4 separate regions of the Homo sapiens genome follow, and all the other regions are linked to region 3. Evidence: promoter capture Hi-C in human tissues and cell types (Jung and others, 2019). All regions are on one chromosome and are shown on one strand. Each heading gives the region's core, a stretch centred on a gene start or on the middle of the fragment in contact. The rest is flanking DNA. Distances are from core to core; before and after follow the strand shown. Region 1 overlaps ATP8B4 (ATPase phospholipid transporting 8B4 (putative)). Region 2 has its middle 31 kb from the start of ATP8B4. Region 3 holds the start of SHC4 (SHC adaptor protein 4). Region 4 overlaps GABPB1 (GA binding protein transcription factor subunit beta 1).

Region 1 (7,137 bases), core at 4,557-7,056, 1.1 Mb after region 3:
CATGCCACTGCACTCCAACCTGGGTGACAGAGTGAGACTCTGTCTTAAAAAAAAAAAAAAAAACTAACTAACCTCAAAGGTTATAGTCAAAATGTGAACCATGAAATAGGCTAGAAATTTCATTAAGAAATGAAGAGTTATATCCTGTGTATTCTTTAAAAAATGATATATGAAGACACATGCATTATTTGTGTGTATGTGTGCTCTTTTAAAATGACTTGCATCAAATTGTTGATTTATCAAAAAATTATATGTAAGATAACTATGAGGAAATATCACATGAACCAACTTGATAAGTACAAATCTTCCCATATGTCTTCACCATACTCAACTACTCTTAGCAGGGGTGAGTTCCCACTTTCTCCATAATATCTTCCCTAATTCTCTTTCACACATCCCACCTCTGTTATCAATCTAGCTACTGAAGTTCATCTTCCCCCCTTAAAGAACCAAAGCACTTTGGTTCTTTTAAATTATGAATTTCACACCATTTTTATCTCATATTATTGTTGTTCATGAACATGACCCACCTCCCTCTACTGAATGTTAAGTTTTTTTTAACTTCATTTTCTGGTGTCTCTTTCATTTCTGCATTCTCCATATAGCTTAGCACAGAGGGGTGTGGTGAGTAAGTGCCAGTGTTCTGAAGCCAGATTGCTTGAGATGGACTATTACAGACTAAAACAACCATGAAAAAGTATGTCTGTTAAGCCAATAATATAGATAAGATGGAATCACAAAAAACACTCCGTTAATCTAAAAGTAGGGAGAGAAAAATAGAACGAAGAGCCAATGGGCCATATAGAAAGCAACAGCTAGATAATAGATGGCCTAACCATAATGATAATTATATTAAACATAAATGGGTTAAATATTCCAATTGAAAGGCAGAGATTTTCAGATTTTATTAAAAATTATTAGCCTACTATATATGCTGTCTACAAGAAAACCATTTTAAAGATACAGATGGGTTAAAAATAGGCAACAGGAAATATGGGTGTGAGCTCAGAGGAGTGACTTGGGCTAGGAATATAAACCTGTAACTCATTGGCATAGACAGTTATTGAGGGGGCACATGCAATCACTCAGGATGAAAATATAATTTGTCTGGATTTAGAATGTTTGGTTTTCCCAAGACTATGTTTTGTCTTTGAGTGAGAATGACTTCCTTTGGGTTATGCAGACTTTAAAATTCTCTATTGCCTTATATCTGACTTATTTACATTAGTTTCCTGACTTTTGAAGCTACAGTTGACCCTTGAACAACATAAATTTGAACTGCACAGGTCCACTTATACACAGATTTTTTTTCTCTAAAGGCTATATTGAGTGTGCTTGCTCTCCTGCTTCCCCTTCCTCTGCTTCTGCAACCCCTGAGACAGTAAAACCAATCCCTCCTCTTCCTCTTCCTCCTTAGCCTACTAAACATGAAGATGACAAGAATGAAAACCTTCATGATGATCTACTTCCACTTAATGAATAGCATATATATTTCTCTTCTTCATAATTTTCTTAATAACATTTTCTTTTCTCTAGCTTACTTTATTATAAGAATACAGTGTAGGCCGGGCGCGGTGGCTCACGCCTGTAATCCCAGCACTTTGGGAGGCCGAGGCAGGTGGATCATGAGGTCAGGAGATCGAGACCATCCTGGCTAACAAGGTGAAACCCCGTCTCTACTAAAAATACAAAAAATTAGCCGGGCGCGGTGGCGGGCGCCTGTGGTCCCAGCTACTCGGGAGGCTGAGGCAGGAGAATGGCGTGAACCCGGGAAGCGGAGCTTGCAGTGAGCCGAGATTGCGCCACTGCAGTCCGCAGTCCGGCCTGGGCGACAGAGCGAGACTCCGTTTCAAAAAAAAAAAAAAAAAAGAATACAGTGTATAATAAATATAACATACAAAATATGTGTTAATCAACTGTTTATGTTATTGGTAAGGCTTCTGGCCAACAATAGGCTATTAGTAAAGTTTTGAGAGAGTCAAAACTTATACATGAATTTTTGACTGTACAGGGAGTTGGTGTCCCTAACCCCCACATCATTCAAGGATCAACTATATTTGACTTTGTAACTCCTAATATAATGACAAGAATGTATAAGAATACCTAATATTTACCAGCTCTCAAACCTTAAACAAAGACATGTGATAAAGAATAAGTAACACTTCACTGAGTGAATGCAGGTTGATTTCCAATTCTGCTCTTCCACAAATTGGTTGTATTATTAGCAAATCACTAGCTCTTTCTGGGCTTTAGTTTTCTCATCTATAAAAGGAGAAAGTGAATCTAGTTACTGAAGCCTTCTTGCTTTTAAACAGGCTCTGGTTTTACAGCACCTGTATTAATCATCAAACAAATAGTAAAATAGCTTTATATGATATTAACCAAAATAACTTCATTCAAAATTTCAAATGTATCTTCATTATCTATTTCTGAGAAGCCACAACTGAAATTGAGACCTCAAGAATGCTCAAGAGCAAATACTCACATAGTCATCTGTGGCATCTTTGACAGCTGTCATAGTTATCACCAGGACCAAAGGCACAATGGTGGTAAACCAGGTCAAGGAGGAAATTTCTGGAATTAGCTGAAACAAACATTCCAAATAGTTTAGGGCTTTTAAAGTTAGAAAATATATCTTCCAAACTGTGTCATTTAATTTCAAATTAATGGGGTTATATTGACTTATTTGTACAAATGGAGAATGACTTTCAATAATTTAAGTGTTTGTATTTGGTTATAAGACACATAGAGTAGAATTATTATTGAACTTGTTTTCAAACTACCTAACCAAAAACTGAAATTTTTATAGCAAGGGGAGAAGCTTCTTGAAATCTCTCACAGATGATCACTTTCTCCAATATGTTAAATTTCACCCATCTTTTTCTGCTTTTCATCTCAACTTTTAACAATTTTACCAACTCCTCTTTTTACCAATTCCCAAAGAGAGATTGTTTGAACATCTGCCTTGCACCAGACACTGTGCCAGGTACTTTCCATTTATTACATCATTTAATCCTCGGAAAAGTTCATTGAGTTAGATTCCTACTAGGATTGTTTTTGTATAATCCCAGAAGGTTTGTATTCCACATAAATAGTACCCCCAGTACACAACACAGAATACTACATTATGACGGGTGACCAGGAGTCAGGAAATGTTGCAGACCTGGGTATCATGTCCCAATTTTATAAATGAAGAATCTAACAGGTCATGCAACTGGGCCAAGATCACATACTGTTAAAATTTGAAACTAGGTCTCTTGGACTCCAAGCCCTATTCCCTTGTGCCCATACCTCCAAAGCCACCCACATAAGAGAGACATAGTGACAGTGGACATAAATCTCTTAGGTGGTTTTCAAATGGGATTCATTTGAAAATCTGCTGCTTCGGGGCCATCAGGCAGGAAAGGATGGGGTAGAGACGGTCAGTGGCTAAAGATCAGGCCCCATCAAAACAACTCTAAATCAATTTTACATAGCAGCTTCCATGTAAGATTTTTTAAAAAAAACTCAAAAGCCTCTGATGTAGCAGTAAAAATGTTGAGCTTGGTGTCAGAAAAGCTAAATTCTAGTCCTAGTTCATCATCAACTCATGGTGAAAGCTTTACCACCTAATCTCTCTGGGTCTAATTTCTTCAGCAATAAAGAAAGGAGAGGTTAGACTGAACCATCCCAAAGTTCCCTTCTAAATATAAAATTCTATGAACAAGAGCCTTTGGCCACAAATGAGAAAGCCATTAGAGAAATGAATTCAAAATTCTGGAATGGTGTGAAGTGTTACTTGAAGAAACCAAAAGCAACTTCATGGGGAGAGGTGGGGGGAAGAAATTTGGACTCTAAGCTTTCTTCAACAAATAGTAAGATGTTTATTCATTGTTTGTTTTTGTTTTCCTGATCAGCACCCAGTTCTTCTCAAATATACTCCTATTTCTTAGGGAACCATCATATCCCCTCACTTTCTGTCCACATAACTTTAGGAAACTGATTCCACCATGGATCCAGGGTTTGGCATATGATCTTGGTTAAGCCAATTACTGGATCAAACTCTTGAGCCACAGTGACAGGTTTAGGAATGAAGATACAGCTCCAATCAGAACTAATCTCAAGACTTTTGCTGGAGCAACAGAAAAAGTAATTCCTTCATTCGTTTTCTCTCTCTCTCTTTCTCTCTTTCTCTCTCTCCCCCTCCCCCTCTCTGCCCCACTCTCTCTCTCTCTGACTTGAGTTGAAACCAGGAAGCTGTCAGGGCCACCAAGTAGAGGGCCTACCTAAGAAAGGCCAATGTGTGAAAACAAAAACAAAAACAAAACAAAACAAAAACAGAGAAAGAGAAGCCACATCCTGATGAAATTGTGCCCATGAATCCAGTAATACCTGAAATGAGATACCCATGAATAATTTATCTTTTGCTCAAACTAATTAAGATTTCTGTCACTTGAAACATATTCTTAAATAGATATTCAATTAAAGAGAAAACAGTACTCAAATCTATTAATCTAATCCATCTTCTTACTTCTTAGCCATTCTTGACCTACCAGTTTGATCTGCTTAAAGTATGCTAACATAAATACTAGGTAAATAACTGGCTAACATGAACTATTTATGTGTGTGTATAGTATGTATGTGTACAGTATATATGTAGCTTCCTTGATTCATATGTTTTTCCTTCCCAAAATATCCATAAAAGCTGAAATTTCATTTAAAGGCAAATTTTAGTTAGGAGAAAAAGCAAAGGTTACTAAATACCAATTAACCATTCAAAACTGTAAAAGTAGTCACCTACAGTGAAATAACATATAGCATCATCACTTTATATATATTAAAAATATGTCACTGTTCTTAAATGAAAATGAAATGTGCAGAATTAAGCTCTGCAACCTACTCAGTCTTAGTCACCTAAGATTCTGCCTCAACTCTGGCAATCCCCACACTGTAGATGTGAAAGGGAGATAAAGAAAGGAGGGAGGCTGTGAACAGTAATTATTAGGCTCTGGTTTGGTTCAAATAAAGTGCAAGGCTGTGTTTTAAAGTGACCTCAGTGTTTAAAATGATGAATGTACTACTTTTTAACCATTCCTACCTCTCCCACGTTTGTGAAAAGAAACAGCAACAACAAGATTAAAAATCTGATAAAGGATGATTGTACCTAATCACGAACATTTAGCTAAGTAAATTGACTTACTTTTTACAATTTTATGAATACTTTAAACAAACAGATAATAGAGAAATACAACCTAAATATTACCTGTAAAATCAGAAGGCAAAGAAAATAGGCATTTGCCACTCTTTGGAACTGTTCAAATAAATTAATTGGCAAGAAGGTGAGAATATTATATTTCGATGTGTGGATACGATTATCCTGGAAAAGAAATAGCATCATGTTAGTTTGGGGCAAGGCATTGCTCATGATCAGAAATAGCTCTAAAACCTACAAGCCTGAGCCAGAGTAAGAAAGATAAGCCGGTTATCTAGGAAATTTCAACTCTGTGTGGCTCAAGGCCTTCATTTTTCCCAAGATGATATGCTCCTGATACTAGATGAAATTACTGGTCCATGCCATAAACTCACCTGTAACTAAATATGTATCAAATGCAAAAGTCTACCCCTGAGATTTCTGACTTAAGCACTCAACTATTTGGCAGTCATTGCTTGAGTACCTACTGTATGCAGTATTGAGTTCCTGTTGGAGCCCGCAAGGCAGGAGGGAACTTCAGAAATCATCTGGTCCACCTTCCCAAAGCATGACCCTTTTAGATACCTCCGACAAGGGGCTCCTAGGTCTGTCTTAGAAGATCTCCTGGGATGGGAAACTGACTGCCTCGCAAGGCAGCCCGTCCCCATTTCAGAACGGGAATTGCTGGAATGGTCCTTATTATGAGGAACCCAAATCTGCCTCCCTATAACTTCTTTTTTTTTAATAACTATTTTTTTCTACTTTTATTTTAGGTTCAGGAGCATGTGTGCAGGCTTGTCACATGAGAGAACTACATGTCACTGAGGTTTGGTGTATGAATGATCCTGTCGTCAGGTAAAGAGCATGTTAGAGTGGGTGGAGAGCTAGACATTAACAGGAGGGGAGCTCCTGGGAAAGGAAACCTCTGGGAAGGCTCACACCTGAGGGACCACCCAAAATTTGCATATTAATGCCATTTCTAATGCTTGTCGGGGGGCACTTAGTCATATGTGGGTAGGAGAGCGAGAAGGTAGCCACACAGAAAGAAACACCGCGGAATGCCTCTTAAGACACCCCAATAATCATTCACTCTGCAGTTAAAATGTCAGAATGTCGTTAGCTACATGCTAATAAGAAGGGCAAAGGGGGCCAAGCACAGTGGCTCACGCCTATAATCCCAGCATTTTGGGAGGCAGAGGTAGGTGGATCACTTGAGGTCAGGAGTTCGAGACCAGCCTGGCCAACAAGATGAAACCCCCTCTCTACTACAAATACAAAAATTAGCCAGGCATGGTGGTGCACGCCTGTAATCCCAGCTACTGAGGAGGCTGAGGCAGGAGAATCGCTTGAACCCAGGAAGCGGAGGTCGCAGTGAGCCGGAATTGCACCACTGCACTCCAGCCTGGGTGATGGAGCAAGACTCTGCCAAAAAAAAAAAAGGAAAAAAGATGGGCAAAGGGGACATTACCAAGAGAAACCTGGCACCACAAGTACAGATTAGGACACACAAGGAAATTCCAAAGAGATATGTAGGCCCAACAGGTATAGATTTGACCACTATACAACCTTTCTGGGGTGGCAGCAATGAGCAGGGCCACCATCAGACAGGATTTGTACTGATCACCAGCCCACACATGCACATTAACCAACAGTAAGGGAGGGTCCCACAAGCCTAGGTGAGGAGTTAAGGCAGGAGCGGGAAAAACTAGGCAAAGGAGAAAGGTGGAGACTTGAGACAGGGGCAGTAATTTGCAGAAAAAGTCCAGCATGATAAAGCTCCCTGTGCAGAACCTTTGGAACTGTTTTCGCACAGGATCATCCCACTCCTCCTTTGGGGTGTACCCATTTTTCCTACAATAAGCTCTTTACAATATATTTCTTTTCAATAAAATTTTTTGCTATCTTTGTACTGTCTCTTGGTTGAAATCTTTCTTCCAAGTTAGACAAGAGCTGGGACATCCACTCTC
Region 2 (6,736 bases), core at 1,072-3,571, 1.2 Mb after region 3:
CTTGAACTTTACCTGGTAAGGTAAGTTTGTCTTTGGTAGTGGTATTGATGTAGTAATTCTGAAACTACTTTGCGTGTGTTTTAGAATTTCAAATAGATAAACATATTGATCTTGCTGGTGTTGCAGGACTTTTCCTTAGTTCAGCTAAAGACAGGGTCCTTTTCCGTCCCATGGTCACCAACATTTAGGCTCATAGATGGTTTGAAGCGTGAGTAAAGCAGGGTTGTATTGGGTAAAAGGGAAAAAAGGGGAAACAGGGATCCTCCTAAGGCCAGAGTCCCTGCTAGAGAACTTCCCACCCACAAGTTCCACACAGGAAGAGGAGGAGCCTTGAATCCCAGGTTCCACACAGGAAGAGGAACCCTTCTGCAAATGTTGTGAACTTCTGTGTCTCCACCCCAGTGTGCACTCTTCCCAGTGCACAAGCCAGTTGGAGTTTTTCCAGGGATCCTCTTCCCACTTGGCTGTCTCACTGGGAACCAGTTTTCCCATTATGGGAGGGTTGTTTTTTGTTTTTTAAAAGAGATATGGAGTAAAGGAAGAAGACGCAAACTCTTTGGTGTTGGGTTACGAAGTTAGAGGTATCAGTACAAATTCGAGGTCTTTAAAACTATGTATTAGCCAGGCACGGTGGCTCACGCCTGTAATCCCAGCACTTGGGGAGGTCAAGGTGGGCAGATCACCTGAGGTCAGGAGTTCAAGACCAGCCTGGGCAACATGGTAAAACCCTGCCTCTACTACAATTACAAGAATTAGTCGGGTGTGGTGCTGCATGCCTGTAATCCCAGCTACTCAGGAGGCTGAGGCATGAGAATCGCTTGAACTGGGGAGGCGGAGGTTGCAGTGAACAGAGATCACACCACTGCACTCCATCCTGGGTGACAGAGAGAAAGAGACACTGTCTCCAAAAAAAAAAAAAAAAAAAAAGTATATACTTCCTATTTTGTCCATTGAAAGAGCCTAGAAGCAATAACCCTCCTGCAGAAGGAGTATACCTGCACCCTGGCTTCCATGTCTAAACACCATAGTCAAAAGACAAAAGCAGGATCCCACGGAGAAATGGTTGATTCCAGGGCTGGGTCAAGGGAAGCACAAGGTGATCCTGGAACATCTTTTGTTTCAGAACATCAGAACATGCTCAAAAGCTGATCGGGACCTGCCAAAAGACACAGGAGCCAACCAAGATCAATGACACAAAAGAATATATAACATTGAATTTTTTGAAAATTGCTGAGTCTATACCCAACCTTTAAAGGAGGAAAAAAAGAAAAAGAAAAGATGCCAATGAATGCATGTGGAAGGAATGATAGAAACAGAAAATCACCCTCTCAGAACCACCATAGAAATAATAGATTCAGGCAAGGATCATCAAAGAGTGCCAAAATCATTCAGTGGGAAATTGGGGCGTAAAAGAATATTTATACAATCTAAAAGTATAACTCCATGCAATACATATTAATTACAAAGAAGAACTATATCTTTCCAATGCATCTAGCAGTTAGCATTTCTACTAAGTGATCCAACTTAATACGAGCAATAATGGGACAATCAGGCAGCAGATGCCTCCTGGTCTGACACACTGAGAAGGACAGAACACCACTTCTTTAGTGTTCCTGCCAAACTGCAAAACCTGAATCTAATCATGAGGAAACATCACATAAACCCAAGTTAAAGAACATTCAACAAAATACTGGCCTGGACTCCAAAAATGTTAATGTCAATTAAAGACCAAGGAAAAGCTGGGGAACTGCTCTTGATTAAAGGAAACATAAAAGACATAAATAATTATATTTAATATTAAATGCAATCTGTAATCTAGATTGGCTTTTGGATGGTTTACAAAAAAAAAGCTATAAGACATTGCAATGGGTTGAATGTGTCCCCTCCAAAATGTAGGTGTTGCCAATATGACAGTATTAAGAGGTGGGGCCTTTAAAAGGGGATTAGGCCATGAGAGCTCCTCCCTCATGAATGGGATTAAGGCCCTTACAAAAGAGGCTTCATGCAGTATGCATTCCTTGCCATTCCACCTTCTGCCACGTGAGGACACAGCATTCCTTTTCTTGGAGGCTACAGCCTTCACCAGATAACCAAACCTGCTAATGCAAAGGATCTTGGACTTTCTAGCCTCCAAAACTATGAAAAAATAAATTTCTGTTCTTTATAAATTACCCAGTCTAAGGTACTCTGTAATAGCAGCACAAAACAGGCTAACACAGATATTATTGAAGTAATTCGAAAACTGAATAAGAATTCATATTAGATAATAATATTAAATGTAATATTAGATAATAAAATTGTATCGACTTCAAGTTTCCCAAGTGTTATAATTCTGTTGTAGTTAGATTACAAAATTCTCTTGTTTTAAGTGATACGTACTGAAAGTATTTAGGAATAAAATGTTATATTGTCTACAACTATCTCTCAAATGGTTCAACATCATTTCATCCATAAGTACTTAGTATGTATCTCAAAAAGATAAGTATCCCTTTTAAAAATAACAATACATCATGCTATTTTTAAAGCTTCCCAGGTGATTCTCTTGTTCATCTATGAATCAATACTACAGAGATGATAAGCAGAACTAATCTCAGGGGTTAAATGTGAATGTGGTGGTGGCAGTTGAGAACATTGTGTTAAGAACAATTCTGACACATGATTAGGCTCAGCCTAAGATAATGCCATGATTGATTGGCTAGGTCTGCCGTAGTGCCCAGTATGTCCCTGTATATTATCTGAGTCATGTCATAAGCATAAAACACAGAAGACAAGAGAGAGTAAGCTATAGGCCAGAAGTTAGAAAGGAGATCCTAGTATCACTGGTAGAGTCTGATCTGGTGATAGACTGCTGACCTCTCTTCCTCTTCAAATCAGTCAGACCTGTTTTCCTGGTTAAACAGTTTATAAGGAAACAAAAGGCAAGCATGGGAGGGGATAATATGTGTATGTGCACTAAGCCTTGAAGCAGATCTCTTTGATCATCACAGAGTCCACTGAGGTGGTAGGAAACAACTGCAGAGAGGAGCTCTTTAGAGAAATAACCACAATAATAATAATGATAATGATGATAATATGCTCAAAAGAGAAGTGAATCTAATGAAAAACTACTTCATTAGAATGAAATTCTAATAGAGGCATTTATCAACCTAAATAGCAAAGAAAGACTCTCTAAAAATAAATGATATGTATTTGGGAATAAGGCATTGCAGTGGGAAAGCACATGCCATAGTAAACTATGTGTGTATTCAGGGCAGTAAAGGAAGACAAAGGCTTTTAAGAGAAAAATTAAGAAAATTTCATAGTTGGCCGGGCACAGTGGCTCATGCCTGTAATCCCAGAACTTTCAGAGGCCAAGGTAGGCGGATCACCTGAGGTCAGGAGTTTGAGACCAGCCTGGCCAACATGGCAAAACGCTGTCTCTACTAAAAACACAAAAATTAGCCAGGTGTGGTGGAGGGTGCCTGTAATCCCAGCTACTCAGGAGGCTGAGGCAGGAGAATCGCTTGAACCCGGGAGGTGGAGGTTGCAGTGAGCCAAGATCACGCCACTGCACTCCAGTCTGGGTGACAGAGCAAGACTCCGTCCCAAAAAAAAAAAAAATTTCATAGTGGTTTTTGAGATAATTATCCTTGGCTACAAGGATCAGTAACAGTAACAAGAGTGACAGCAGGTGAGCTTGAACAGTGAGTTGCTGGGCAAATGTCCACATAAAAGTATTTTTTGCAAAAGGCTGTGATGGTCTTTGTGCAAGGTTGGGAGTTTTGCAGAGTCTTTTGTGATAGTATGTGTTATCAGGCATTTCATGAGAACTTTTCTCTGCATGGCCTACCCCAGATCCATTTCTCAGGGAGGATTTTAACACAATGGACTCCATTTTGATTCTGAGAACTTTCACACTTCCCTCCTTTTCATCAAGATCTTTCTCCAAAAGCATCACTGATCAATCAACCTATAGTTGGATTTTGATGTCCCTCAGTACCAGGATGGATTTGTCCCAGGTTGCTCATCTACACCCACATTTGGAAGGAATGATTGGTGACTACGAGTCATACTGAAACTCTTCTGGCCACATTTGAGCAACAAAGGGAGTTTGAAGCGAAGCTCTCAGGCTAGCCTACCTGGAGTCCATTATTAAGTTTAATTTTGTCTGTTTCGTAGGGGTTTGCTATCATCCCCAAGTTCTAGGCCAGCATTATTCTGTTCAGAGTTGTACCTCTGCAAGAATTTAACAAATAACAAATACAAAGTTTAAAATAAGAAAATACAACACAAAATTAATAGTAATATGACAATTCTAATTTGCATAATGGTTTTGAGACATGAACCTGGGCTAAGGCTAAAGACAACCAATTGAATAAATCAAATGACCATTATCCTGTAAAGTGAAAATGGTTGGCATTAACAGGGGTAAGAGTCTCATTATGATATGGATTCCTGTCCTAACATCTTGGGAAAAGCTGTCTAGAGCATGAAAACATCTCATCCTGGTTTGCAGATTAAATCTGTCTGTGGCATCAGGTGGTTTTGTAAATTGTTGTGTGACTCATTATCAGGCACAACTTCCTTAAAATTTATCTAGTTTCAGCTTATAGGGCTTCAGGAATGGAGCATTTTCAATTTTTAGCAATTCCATGAAAGAAAGTTGGATTGGAAGGCTCTAGAATTCAGGATTTAGTCTAGTCTGTAGGTAGATCACAGGAACTCAAAAACAATGCACAGAGTTACAATGTAATAACAGGTGTATTATAGCTTTTCTTTAGAAACATAACTTTTTCTATACATATTAATCACATAGGAAGCTCAGATTTTAAAATTTCTTTAGGCTAGGAAGCCAAACCAAGGCAGATTTAGATTTTACCTATAGTCTTAAGGTTCCTGGGCCTGCCAGAGAGTAACAACTTTTTGTCTATTCATTTAAGTCTGGGAACACTTGAAGCCAGTCATTCTATGCACACTGTCAAATATGATATTTTGGTCAAAGCCTTGGTAATATAACTAATGTTTCTGATTGTATTCTGCTATTTAAAAAGAAAGACCTCTGACATGGTCAACATGGCGAAACTCCATCTCTACGAAAAATTTTAAAAGTAGCTTGATGTAGTGGCACATGCCTGTAGTCCCAGCTTCTCTAGGGCTGAGGTGGGATGATCACTTAAGCCCAGGATGTGGAGGCAGCACTGAGCTGAGATTGTCTCCAGCCTAAGAGACAGAGTGAGAACCTGTCTCAAAAAAAAAAAAAAAAAAAAAAAGAGAGAGGTAAGATTTTTACTGGACTTATGCAAATAACTATATTGCCATAAGAAAACTTATGAACAGTTTCCAAATTTTTGAGGAATAGTAAGAATAAAGAGTAAATGCTTCCAGCTTTATTCACAAAAGCATACTTTACCAAAATGTTGTAAACTATAGACAGCTTAAGAGAGAAAGTTTTCTTAAGTCTGGAAAACAAAACACTTGAAGAACAATTAATGTTAGATAAAAGTCATAAAAGCATTATCTTTATCATTTATATAATATCATGTAATTAATTTTCGTTTTGCCTTATCTATTGATTAGCAGTTTCATAAACCCATGTTTCTTCATTAGAATTTTGAAAAAAAATTATATTTAGTTCATTAAAGTTATTAGAAACCTGTATTTAAGAGTACTTTTTAGACTCTTTTCCATAAATCTGATTGGAAATGCTTTTAGAGAAGGACTTAAAACAGTAACTATGGAACTAAGGACCTAAAACAGTAACTATGGATGACAAAAACTTAGAATACCTGTGTTAAAAATCTGATGGAAGTGGATTACAATCAGCAATTGGCAAGAAAATTTAGTTATTTTTATGGCAGACAACATAATAGTGACTGATTTCATATTAGATTTCTAAGAGTTTTATACAATTTAGAAATATTCATATCAATAACATGCCCATAAATGTAATTGAAAGGAGATCTAGTATCACTTATTGTTTGACAATATTTTCCATTTAATTTGACAATTAAGCCTAATTATTTAATATCTCTACAAGATGAGAGATACAGTCCTTGAGGCTCTCCCAGGGCCTATCTAGAAAATCTCAAATTAATTCTAAATCAAAAAGATTTAATTTACAATTTTAATCCTGGGAAAGTCTGTCAAAGACATCAAAAAGTTCAAAACATTTGATCTAACATACAGGACCAAAGAGAATCACAGGTCACTGTGAAATAATGTTCATTTAACCAGAGCGATAATCAAAAGATTTCAAACGCAACACAGAAAGTTACATGGATTTTTAAAACCTTAACCCTTTCAAAGCTCAGTTTTCCCAAGTAATCAAAAACCTGGTGAAGACAACATTGAAATTTATCTTGATAAAATGTAATATTTTGTGGAGGTTTTTAGGCCAGTTACCAAAAAGGTAAAGAAAAACTTCCTGCATTGTGATTGCTTCTTCTTCTGGGAAGCCTGTTTAGATAACTGCAAGTCAAAACTGATGAAAAGGACATTGCATTTAATTACACACAGAAAGAATGTGTCCAAAGTTATCAAGGAACACCATATTATAAAGGAATGTAAATAAGAAAATGGTATATTGAGCAGAGGACTGCATGGCTCTTGGAAAAAGTAAGAGCATGTGAAATGTCCTGGTTACATGGAACAATTCAAACATATCAAGAAAAGCCAAGAGTATGGAATCAAATTATCCTAAAGGAAAACATTGTTTTTCTAAGCCTACAAACAGAACATTTCAATGACAAATCATAAC
Region 3 (6,407 bases), core at 2,496-4,995:
CCATTAAAAATCTAAAACGCCAGAGGAGGCACTCCCTAGGGAAACTGGAGATCACACAGCAACTCTTTTCACATTTAAAATTGTACAGGTGTGTGGGTATGGGGAGGTTGCAGGAGGTACAAGAGGAAAGGAAAGCTGAGGCAGAGGCTAGAGGATGTGTAGGTGATGGTAAGGCAAGTGCAGAGAGCCCAGGTTTGGAGACTCACTCGTTTTCCCATGAGGGCCTGGCACACACCTAATCTTGATAAATGAGAATATGCCCATGAACTTTGAGTAGAAACATGAAAATATTTCCATTATGTGCCATGTCACTGTGGGTGAGGGCGAGAGCTGCATGTCCCATACATTTATCTGCTTTAGAGGTTTTAGTTACCCATTTGCCAGGACTGCCCAAGCCTGCTCTCTCTGTAACCCTTCCAGTGTTTATTATTTGAACTTCCCTGAGATCCTAATTGTCTGTTTGTAATACTGAGATCCTAATTGTCTGTAATACAGTTCTTGGGCTAGCTCTCTATACCTTCAGATCAGACATCTCGCCTGAGTGCTAGTTTTATATGACTGTCTACCTACATATTAGCATTATTTACAAATAATTACATTAAATTTAATATGTCAAAAACAAACTTAAAATGAGTCCATTTCCTAATTTACTCTGCTTCAGTCATTGGCATCACTGATGTCATTCTGAGACTTCAATTTGAAAGTTTTTTTTTCACCCTTTACAACCCTCCATCAATAATCAATCACAACCCCAATAAACAACAATGGTAACAAAATAATCAATCTACCCACTGCTCCATAAATGTTCACTACTCTATTAGTTATATTATGATTTGAAATGATCTGCTTAATCTCCCAGGGTTGTTGAGGCTTCTCTCATTCTTCTGTCACAGAATGCCTTACCATTCACCTCCTTTCTCTCCTCTCCACCTTAATCAGTGTTCTCATTGCCTCATACCTAAACTCTCAGAGTATCTTTCTTACTGTCCTCCAAGTCTCTAATTTTTCCCTGCTTCAATCCATGTCAAATAAATCAACCAACTGGTCTTTTAAAAATTACTTTCAGCAAGTCATGCCCTACAAACCTAGGAGGATTCTCATTTATCAATCACAGTATTTACAATCTCCTCATTTGGCATTTAAGAGCTTCAGTCAACTTCGGTCTCCCAAGCTACCCGTGATCTCTATTTGTCTTTATTCAACTCATACTTGTTTGAGTACTACAAGCCACCCCCTCCCTCAGTCACCCACTATTCTCCAGCATTCCCCTTCCTCCTCCATAAGGCCCAGCCTGTGTGATGCTCCCCTGCAGCCACCACAGTGACTTTGCTCCTATTCTTGGCCTACCAGGAATCCCCTCCTTTCTGCCAACCCAGATCTGACATTTCTTCCAAGATTCATCTTCTCCTGAGGGTTCCCCATGTGAATGAATCCCAGATCACATAATCTTTCCTTTTTTCTGAATTCCCTCAGCATTCTCATATTAGCTATCTATTGCTAAGTATTATTATCTTAGTATTTCGCATGTATTCATTGATCTCATTGAAATCTGAGCTGCAAAAGGGCACAGGCCAAATCTTCATTTGCCCACATCTTGACTGAGCAAGGACAGATACAAGGCCAGTAAGGACCTTGATTTTGCCCATAGCTCATGGACAAGGCCTACTTGCTGCAGCGTAGGCAGTAAAGGCAATAAATGTGCACCGGAGAGCTAAGACTAGCTCCTGGCACAAGGTTAGAGACTCGGACGTGTTTTGAGAAGTGTTTGTTAAATGCTGAAATAAATTTTTAAAGAATAATTCAAGCCCCTTACACACCATGTGTTTCTACAGCACAGAAATCTTTACTGTATTCATCCAAAATACAATGGCCAGTATAACCTACCAGGTCTCAATCACTGATCAGATTTGAAGTCCTTGACTCTTTTTGGCCAGAATACTAGGTCCAGCGGGGACAAAGTGGTGCCATCAGCTGCCTCTATCAGAACTTGCCTCTACACCTGCCAAGTACCCACAAGTTCATGTCCTACAAGTTAGCACCGGTTCATGTCCTTGAACCAAAGGCTGCCTGACTCCAGTACAAGTCAGATAGTTGTAGGGACATATATAAACCCAGCTCCCCTCCGCCTTGGTCCAGTTGAATCATGTCCTGTCCAAACACAGAACCCAGGCAGGTAACATTAGACCCCTTGCAGAAAGCAGAGAAGATGCCCCCTTCCACGGAAGTTCTTAGAGGGCAGAGAGGAAAATGGACTTACCCTCACACAGTAGTTCATGCCCATCCCCAACAGGTGCTGTAGAAAGTGCCTGTCCTGCCTGCTCCTAAGTGTTGGCTCCCCAGGGCCAGGAAGCGGGCACGAATCAGGGGTTAGGGCGGTTGCCCTGTGTCCCACCAGGTCCTGCTGCGGTGGAGGTGCAGTCCCGGACCTACTTAAACTGGTTTCTGGGGAAGAGGGGCCGCTGGAACCTGGGTCCCGGCTTTCCTGGAGCTTCAGCCGAGGCACCTCTTTGGTACCCAGGCAAAAGTTTTTCAGACTCAGCAAAGTGGCCGGGTTGGCCAGCTTCATGCTTGCCATGCGGGGGATCAAGGTGCACAGTGGGGTGGGGCTCTCCTGCGACGGCAAGGTGGCATCTTCAGTCGGCAGGTGAGGTGCCAGGGCGGGGTGGGGAGGCTGCGGCGAGCCCTTGTTCCCGACCGAGCCTCCGGAGCTACCTTCGTCCAAGGACGTGATCGACTCGTTCCGAAAGCGGCTGTACTTGGCCCTGTGCAGCATCCCGGGGTGCCCGAAGAGTCCTACATACAGCACGAGTCCTGCCAGGCTGTCCTGGCCGCGTTCTCGCATAGCCTTGGCAGTGCTGAAACAGGATACTGTTGCATAAATCGCCTCGTCGTCTGGTAGATAAACGGTGCAGACATCAGATACCTCAACGCCCGATGCAACTCACAGCAGCCACCTCTCCAACTCTGCTCTCGAGCTCGCCCACCTCGGCTCCCGGCCCCTTAAGGGTGACAGCCCATGGGGGAAACGCCTCCCCTGCTCTGATTTCAGTCTCTCCCTGGCCCAGGCAGAGGCACCAGTGTTCTCGCCTTGGAATCCTTGTCGGGAGAGCCTAGACCCAGGCTCCCGGCGGCGCGGGTCGCTCACGGCCAACTCTTAGGCGCAGAACCCGGGCGAGCGCCGGTCGGGGGGCCCGCTGCATCACTAGCCTTGCAGGAGCCTAGTAGAAATATTTAGCACCCGACTCCCACCCTCACCCCAGCCTTCTGTTCTGCACACAGGAACTTTCGAACCTGCTCCCTTCGGCTCTCACAGGGCGGGGCAAATGACTGGCCTATTAACCCTTTATTTGTTCCAGTGATTGTTCATTTAAAAAGGAAAAAAAAATGTATCTATGAACCAAAGGCCCTTTTGCCTGGGTTCGTTGATTCCAAAGGCTGCCCTCTCTTGGAAGATCTTGTCTTGCATCCCGTTCTGGGCCACCAGCCAGGAGTACTACTGACGGGCGCTGCTCCGCATTGTTTCACTGACTTGTGATGGGTCCGTGTTCCTCAGATCCCCTCCCAGCCTGCCTACCCTCGCTCAGAGCTTCCCTCCCTCCTGGATTCCTCTCGGAGCTTTTTTCAGAAGCCCATTTGCAGCCGAAAGCTGAGATGTGCAGGATGATACGCAGCGTGTTGAAATTTTTATGAATGAACTTTGCCGAATGAATTTCTCTGTGTGTGTGCAAGCTAATAAATCTGTGAATGAAGCTGAGAATAGCTGTAATTGACTGACGGTCTCAGAGGTGCTTGGTTTTTATCCAATCAGGAGGCAGCTTGATGACTCATACACCATAAATATACTAAACTAGTAGCCGAGAGAAATAAAGCTAGCGGGAGAGGAGGGACGTATTTTATTTTGTGGTATCTGATGAATGAGTTAAAAGGAAAGGCAATCTTTACTACAGATCATTAGCCGGGGAGCAGCAGGTTAAAAGATCTATTTTCTTTCTTGTTGAGATGGCCGGGAGGGCAGAGCAGAAGAGCTAAAAATTAGACCCATTGTTACAGGGATATTAGGACATATGGTTCACAACTCCTGTGGGAAGCCATGATGCATTTTTCTTAGAAACATAGTTCTTTTTTTATTGATTGTTGGTTCCATCTTCCGTCTGGTGCGACTTCCTGTACCTATCAAATGCATCCTGAAGACATGATGACAACTGCAAAGGCTTAGCACACAGGAAGCCAAAACCAGAGCTGGGAAAAGGAAATGCAGGTTCTTCAGGAATGGAGAAGAGGAAACTGCTGAAACACTGGGGGTGTGGGGTGTCGGGGTGGGGTGGAAATCACACATAGGAAGAGATAAAGAACTCTCAGAAAAGATTGCATTACTCCGTGTCTCAAGGCTTTGACATCTGAAATTGTTCATTAATTAAAAAATTAAGACAAACTGGCAACCAAAGGAATTAAGGGTGCCACCTTCATTATCTTATTGTCCCTAATGCTGGATTAGGCTTATGTATATTCATGACTTTGGGAGCCTGAGCTCCCTTGGGATCCAAACACAGGTTCTGAATTAAATGGTTGAGAGTGACCAGTGAAAGCGGCATCCTCCTCCCAAGCTCCCTGGTCCCCCAGGGAAATAAAGCACCCATCACATCCTGTCTGCCAAGCCTGTTCAGACATTTCTTTCCCTGGAAAGGCCTTTCTGCATCTTCATAAATCTTCCCTTCAATCCTTGTTGACCTCCTTTTCCCTGCCCTACATCTCCTCCTGGCAAAACTGAGGGAAGTAGCTAAATCAGTTGGACCCCACATCCCTGGGGCTGAGGAGACAGGCTCTGGGCAAGAATATTTACCTCTCATTCCTCCTCATTCCTCATCTGCTTTCTTCCTCTCATTTTTCCTGCCTTCCCCTGGGTCCCTGGGTCCCTGTGTTGCTTCTGTTATGCTATGATGACCTCATTATATGCTCCCTTTAGAAAGTTACTTTACCTCTCCGTGCCTGAATGTCCTCATATGTTGGCAGCAGCCATCTAATGGGGTTGTTATGAGGGCTTACGAGGCCCAATGCTCCATACAGTGCCCATCTCACTAAGTACATGTGGGCAGTATGAAAAAATGGCCATTGGAACCAGAGCTACCTCCCCTTGAAGCTCATATTCTTAACCCTCACACTGCAGAGTTTACATCATTCTAGGCAACTAAAAAGAAAAATTAGTACAAAGTGGGAGAAGCTAAGAAACTCAACATTGTCCAAAGAAAACAATTTTTTAAATCAGGTGGGCCTGGAGAAGGCTGGAAAGGACATGGGCCTGCCTGGCTGATAGGAATCCTTACAGAGGTCTCATGACTGCAGGATGGGGTGTCCAGGGGAGCCAGCTCATCTAGGTAGGCACCATGCTGGCCAGACTCCAGGAGCCCAGACCAGCCTACATGCCTCAGAAAGTGCGAGTCCTGGGAGGGTTGGGGGTTGCGAAGTGGGACTAAGTAAGGTAAGAAAGCAGTCATGGCCATTGTGGGCTCCTTCTCTTCCCAAAGCCTAGAGACCTTGGCTGTCCTGGGTAGCTCTGCTACAGCGTTTTACGAGGGTGAAAGAGACCAGATCTGCAACTGGAAGTGGGGAATAGCCTCTAGGCTGAGCCTGCCCAGCTGGACCACTCTCTCAGTCCTAACAGCCCAAGAGAAGGCTCGTTGATTGAATTGCTTTTCATTCTAGGTAGATGGGTGGGTAAAGCAGATGGTTTGCTTTTTCCAGGGCATTAGAACATCCTCTTCAATTAGTCATGATTAAAATAATATTAATAAGAGCTACTATTTGTGGAACACCTGACAGTTTACCTACATTCTGGTTCAATTATTATAACAAATTGTGGATGCTTGGATTATGTTCCTCACTGCCTTACAGATATGAAAATGAGGCTGAGAGAAAGGGCAGTGACTTGTTCAAGGTGCTCCAGCTGTTGAGCAATGATCTTGGGATCCCTCTGGGCCTGATTGCAAAGCCTCTGCTGGCAGCCACTGTACTCTGCTGCCTCCCAGGGGACCAGAGAGCTCAAGTCTAGTTTCCAGGCCTATGATGGCTACAGGGCATCTTACTGCTTCCTAAAGCTCTGAGAAATGACTGGACAGGAAGATGAGCTGGGGATTTTTGGAGGTTCTAGGGTTGTTGGGAAGCCTACCCCTGAGCTGGCCCTCACAGATCAATGAGATCAGGGCTGGCAGAATATTTTCCTATCTATGGTTTTCCTGTATCTACCCCTCCAAAACCCCCAGGGAAAGTGTATTTAGCCCAAAGATCATTTATCAGAAGATAATACTAGACTAGATATCTCAGGAAACCTTTGTAACTGGGCCACTACCTACAAGCAGTATGCACTCAGCAGCAAAATGTAATTGGATGAACATTAATCTGGGAATTCCAGA
Region 4 (6,159 bases), core at 1,634-4,133, 1.3 Mb after region 3:
ACACTGCCAGTAATTTAAAATCTGGCCAGGCGCAGTGGCTCACGCCTGTAATCCCAACACTTTGGGTGGCCAAGGCAGGTGGATTGCCTGAGGTCAGGAGTTCGAGACCAGCCTGGCCAACATGGTGAAACCTCATCTACTAAAAATAAAAAATTAGCTGGGTGTGAGGGTGGGCGCCTGTTATCCCAGCTACTTCGGTGCCTGAGGCAGGAGAATCACTTGAACCCGGGAGGCAGAGGCTTCAGTGAGCCAAGATCATGCCACTGCACTCCAGCCTGGGCAACAGAGCGAAACTCTGTCTCAAAAAAAAAAAAAAAAAAATCTTCCCACATGCCACTCCCTGATCACAAGCCCCTCCCCCAGCCCCAGAGGTAACTAATATTTTGAATTTTGTGACAAGCATTACTTAGTTTTCTTTGTATCACTTATCCCTAAAAAATATACTTTGGTTTTGCCTGTTTTGAGTTTTATTTAAACAGAATTATACTGCATGTATTTCTCTGTGACTTGCCTTCTTTTGCTTGACACTGTATTCATGAGATTCACCATGTTAATAACTGTAAGTATAGCTTACTAATTTTCTGTGTTCTATAATATTCCATTGAATGAGTAAACCACAATTAATTTAACCAATCTACTGATGAACATTTAGATTGTTTCCAGTTTTTGTGTTATTATGAATAATGTTGCTGCTAAATACAGTAGTCTTGTATATGTTTCAGGCACATGAACAAGTCTTCTCTCGGGAATAGTCTTAGAAGCCCAACTGCTACATCATATACTATGCACATCTCCAAATTTACTATGTGCTGCCAAACTGTCTTCCATAACGATTATACCAATTCCATACTTCCACCAAAAATATTTGAGAGTTCCCACCATCTCCTCACCAAGCCTTGGTACTGCTCAACTGTTTTTGCTAATCTGGTGGATATATAATAGTATTTCATGATTTTACTTTGCATTTGCCCCAATTTTAATGTAGTTGAGTATCTTTTCATGTTTATTGATCAAACTTTCTCCTTGGTAAAGCACCATATCCAGTCAGTCTTCTATTGCCTTGTCTTTTTATTGCTAACCCATGGGAATTCCTTATGTATTATGGATACTAATCCTTCTTAAGATCTTTCTGTCTTTGGGAGGCCGAGGCGGGCTGATCACGGGGTCAGGAGTTCAAGACCAGCTGGCCAACATATTGAAACCCCATCTCTACTAAAAATACAAAACATTAGCTGGGCTTGGTGGTGGGTGCCTGTAATCTCAGCTACTTGGGAGGCTGAGGCAGGAGAATCACTTGAACCCGGCAGGCGGAGGTTGCAGTGAGCCGAGACTGAACCATTGCACTCCAGCCCAGGCAACAGTGTGAGACTCCATCTCAAAAAAAAAAAAAAAGATCTTTTTGTCTTGAGGTACTACAGCATCACTATGATATATCTAGATATAGATTAGTTTTTAAATTGATCCTGCTGGAGATTTGTTAGGCTACTCAAATCTGTGGGCTGCCATCTTTCATCAGTTCTGGAAAATTCTCAGCAATTACCTCTTTGAATTATTTCATCCCTATTTTTGCTCTTTTTGTGGATCTATGATCAGATGTTAGACTTTCTCACATGATCCTTCATGATTCCTAACATCTCTTTTACATTTTCTATCTATTTTTATCTGTGACATAGTCTGGATCATTTTTTTTTTCATACCTTTCAGTTTACTAATTTTCTCTTTAGCTGTTTCTAATCTGTTACTAAAATTTTATCTCAAGTCCTTATAGGTCTGCTTCTGTTGACAGTTGTTTTAGCAGATTACTGTCCAAATTGGCATGTGTTCATGTGTTTAGTTATTTCTGACTGCTCACTTTCCTTTGAATTTCATTTGTGGATATGAAGCCTGGGATGAAGGCAGGTTCCTCCAGAGCAGATATTCATTTGCTTCTGTCAAGAGCCTGGGGTAATCCCTAGTCCAAAGATCACTTCAAATTCATTTCTCAGTTTACAGTTTTTTAGACTACACAAGTATTTATGAGTTCAGGCTGCAAGTGTGTAAAAAGGATGCCTTGTGATTCCAAATTCTCACCATCAGATTGTTTTCCTCTCTCCATTTGATGTCTTGGTTCACATCAGCTTATTATCTTTGCAGCATCACGGCAACAGGGGCAAGGGCAGGAGCAGACAGGAGGAGGGACAGGGTATTCCTGCTTTATCCCTACACTGAAGGTGCAGCTCTTTGGGATTCCAGAATTATGAGATAAGATCTCCTATCAGACTTCTCTCCATGAACACTCTCAGGTCTTTAGCTTTAGTACCCCAAGCCAGTGAGGTGGAAAAACCACCAGACAAGTGTGAGTTCACCTAATGTTCTTTAGGGTAAAATTTCTCTGGGTTCTTGCCTTCACTTAGTTTTTCAGGTTGATAATCTCTTTCTTTCTAATTCAGCAGTGTACTTAAGAAGACTTTCTTTAAAATATTTCATCAAAAAGTCTTTATTCTTTAAAGATTTATTTATTCTTTAAAGAAACATTTATGGATAAAATGATATGGTCCCTGGAATTTGCTTTAAAATAATACAGAACAAAAAATAATACAGTAGACAGAGTTATAGAGGAAACAATATTCATCATGATTTGATAATTTTTGAAGTTGGGTAAAGGGTATTACAGGGATATCGTTGATATATATTTGAAATTTTCTATAATAAAAAATTTTGTTTTTTCATGAAAAATGTAAAAAGAGAAAGAAAGGCAAAAACGGCAAAATCAAAAATCTGGAATTTTTAGTTGTTACCAATGGGCAGGTTAATTCAGATTCCTAGCATTCCATATCCACAAGACAATACTTTTTTATTTGCCCCCAGAATTAAAGAGTTATTTTTTTTTGCCTTCCCCACAACTACCTTCTTTCCATAGTTGTCAAGATCTCATTCCCATTCCTTTCTTCCTCTTTCGTCATGTCTGCAACAGTTTTACAAGTAATAATTGAAACATAAACTTGTTTTTCTTTTAGGAGTGACTATTAACACTAACTCCAATCTTTATCAGTATCTTTCTGAATTATAAATTCTACCTGTGCTATTTATAAGGCCTTTAAATTAAATCCCAAGCAGATACATTTTTATATTCATGCCACATTAATGCACTCCACAGTTTGAAAGAAAAACTCTTTGTGGATGAAATATTTGGATAAGGTTGTCCAATATCAAAGAAAATAATATAAACCACTTCTTTTAGGACAGTTATAATTCTAAAATAATAAACACATTTGCAAAAATAATAACTTTTTACCACTTATAAACACAATACTGACTACATTTTTCTCTGCAAAAACTCAAAAATGAGAAGGAAAAAGAACACACAATATTAAAATCATTCTTTACCCAGTCTGTAGTAAAGGGAGCTCCATTTGCCATCAAAATACGAACTTCATCATCTTGACCTGCTCGTGCCGCTTCTAAAAGCTTCTTTCCCAAATCTACCAGGGACATCTAAACAAAACATAGATGAACTGAACATCAAAATCTCCATTTATACACTATGACATGACATTTTCCCTTCCTGTCTTTATTAATAAGTCAGTTCTCAATTATCCCTTCAAAAGAGTGTGCTATGGTTAATTTAAAATTACAGATCATACAAAAGCAATTTATATTTGGATTTTAGAATCCATTTTCCTTTCTCATTAAGTTTTTACTTAGAATAAAAGTAGTTTAAATTCTCCAAATACATCTGGTAAAAGATAGAAGAGGTAAGTAGCAGAGAAAAGCTGGCCTAAATTTTTATTTATTTATTTTTTTCTTGACACAGAGTCTCGGCCTGTCACCCAGGCTGGAGTGCAGTGGCACGATGTTGGCTCACTGCAACCTCCGCCTCCTGGGTTCATGTGATTCTCCTGCCTCAGCCTCCCAAGTAGCTTGGACTACAGGCATGCACCACCACACCCAGCTAATTTTTCTATTTTCAGTAGAGACAGGGTTTCACCATGTTAGCCAGGCTGGTCTCAAACTCCTGACCTCAAATGATCTGCCCGCCTTGGCCTCCCAAAGTGATGGGATTACAGGCATGAGCCACCCCACCCAGCCAAGCTGGTCTAAAATTTAAAACTGGCAACTAATTGTTTTTACTGGAGGGTTTGCAGCAATAAAATTTTTCATAAAAGTAAATAAAGTGCAAGATATTGTCATCTGTTGTTGGTGCAAATTAAACTAAACTTAGCATAAATTTTTTTGCAATAGTAAATGTGTTCAAAATTTTAAAAAACAAATTTTCTGCCCTCCTACATGCAATGTATATTTAAGTTCTTGCAGAAAGTAAACAATTCACATTCTATGAAAATACTAAAAACAGTAATAGTATTACGAATAGACTGTCTCATTAGAGGCTAGAGGCCAGGTGCGATGGCACATCCCTGTAATCCCAGCAGTCTGGGAGGCTGAGGCAGGTGGATCCTTGAGGCCAGGAGTTCGAGACCAGCCTGGACAACATGGTGAAACCCTATCTCTACTAAAAATAAAAAATTGGCTGGGCATGGGGGCTCACACCTAGGGTCCCAGCTACTCAGGAGGCTGAGGCACAAGAATCACTTGAACCCAGGAGGCGGAGGTTGCAGTGAGCCGAGATCATGCCACTGCACTCTAGCCTGGGCAACAAAGTAAACTCTGTCTCAAAAAAAAAAAAAAAAACCAGGAAAGAATATCTTGTGCCTTGAATTTAATATATCTGAAAAGGCTAATGTCCCAGCCTGGGATGTGAGGTGTGCATGGGTGTGTATGTATTTGTGTCTTCTTGAATAAGAAATATTGAAATATATGTCAGAAAAAAGATTATGACAGTAGAATATAGGTAAATTAAGATTTGAATGTATCACAAACATTCAAATTCAAGGGATGACAGTTCTGAGAAGAAAGTTTCCAAACCCAGAAAGACTATCCAGCTGGAAGATTACTCAATTATGTCATACAGTATCCTAAGTAAGGAAAAGCAGAATTTTAGGCCCATGGGGAAGGGAATATATGGAATCCCTGAGATTTACAATGAAAAAATGTGCCTGGGGTATAAATTTATCTCAAAAAAAGTATATACTCTGAGGGTTAGGTAAGTAGTCAAGAGAAAATAAATTATAAAGAGAGTAATGGCAGGTTGATTAGTGTATCTCTACCTGGTATGAACAACTATTACAGGTTGAGTATCCCTAATCCAAAAATCTGAAATCTGAAACTTTTTAAGCATCAAAGGAAATACTCATTAGAGCATTTCAGATTTTGCATTTTTGCATTAGGGATGCTGAACCAGTAAGTATTAATGCAAATATTCCAAAATCTGAAAAAACCCAAAATCGGAAACATTATGGACCTAAGTATTTCAGATAAGGGATACTCAACTTGCACTCAATAAGGAAGAGAAAGGAGCGTATGTGTGAGAAGGAAGTTGGCAAATGGGGCTTGAAAAAGTTATTTCTGCCAGAAAGAAACAAAATGTTCTACATCATTAAAAGGGATAAGAAATCTAAAAGGGGTAATTATAAGAAAAGCTGTCCATGAAAATAAACAGAATTATGCCTATAATTTTTAGTAGATTAGCTACGATGGGAATAACCAAGCACAGAAGAGGTAACCAGGGACAGATACTAATACTTGGAGGCTTGCACAATAATTAGGTGAGATATACATATCCCAAACAGGCCTTCGTCACAAGGCAAGAAAGAATTTCTTAGAATTGTTTCATTTGTAAGGATAAAAATAATCTATATTATGGCAAGGCGCAGCAGCTTACACCTGTAATCCCACCACTCTGGGAGGCCGAGGTGGGTGAATCACTTGAGGTCAGGTGTTCGAGACCAGCCCGGCCAACAGGGTGAAACCCTGTCTCTACTAAAAATTCAATCCAGCCTGGGCAAGAGTGAGACTCCATCTCAAAAAAAAAAAATAATCTATATTATATCCTGTAGTAAAGAATAGGAAAAACAACCACATGTACTTGTGGGATTTATATGGGTTTTTTAAATACACTTCTCTGTGACACTCGCAACATTTTCATCCTTGAATTTCTGATTTCCTTTCCTTTTTTTCTCCTATTCTCTCATACCTTGATGGAGTCACTGAAAGCCAAGATACTCCTCAATCCTGCTTAAAGACGCTAAGATCTATAGAGATTACTGATCTCCAATGAGGCAT

Evidence for each region. The method cuts DNA at HindIII sites, captures the fragments that hold promoters and counts their contacts. A contact is called where the count stands out against the background at its distance.
Region 1: a fragment that was not itself captured here is called in contact with the fragment with the promoter of SHC4 in region 3 in 1 of the 25 tissues and cell types used here (lymphoblastoid cells).
Region 2: a fragment that was not itself captured here is called in contact with the fragment with the promoter of SHC4 in region 3 in 1 of the 25 tissues and cell types used here (lymphoblastoid cells).
Region 4: a fragment that was not itself captured here is called in contact with the fragment with the promoter of SHC4 in region 3 in 1 of the 25 tissues and cell types used here (lymphoblastoid cells).

The regions. Positions count from the first base shown.
Region 1 is chr15:50,042,109-50,049,245 of GRCh38, forward strand. ATP8B4 (ATPase phospholipid transporting 8B4 (putative)) reads right to left here. Exons shown (of 28, transcript NM_024837.4): 4 at 5,243-5,356; 5 at 2,486-2,584. Among named protein-coding and RNA genes, the nearest start is that of ATP8B4, 74 kb to the right of the region's middle. The HindIII fragment of the contact is 5,193 bases long and covers 3,211-7,137 here.
Region 2 is chr15:50,146,515-50,153,250 of GRCh38, forward strand. It overlaps a transcript of ATP8B4 not described here. Among named protein-coding and RNA genes, the nearest start is that of ATP8B4, 31 kb to the left of the region's middle. The HindIII fragment of the contact is 5,114 bases long and covers 1-4,878 here.
Region 3 is chr15:48,960,174-48,966,580 of GRCh38, forward strand. SHC4 (SHC adaptor protein 4) reads right to left here and starts at 3,746. Exons shown (of 12, transcript NM_203349.4): 1 at 2,258-3,746. The coding sequence starts at 2,842. RefSeq lists enhancers at 2,220-2,722, 2,723-3,224. The HindIII fragment of the contact is 15,905 bases long and covers 1-6,407 here.
Region 4 is chr15:50,306,325-50,312,483 of GRCh38, forward strand. It overlaps GABPB1 (GA binding protein transcription factor subunit beta 1), which reads right to left. Exons shown (of 9, transcript NM_016654.5): 2 at 3,367-3,474. The coding sequence starts at 3,474. Among named protein-coding and RNA genes, the nearest start is that of HDC, 44 kb to the left of the region's middle. The HindIII fragment of the contact is 7,646 bases long and covers 1-6,159 here.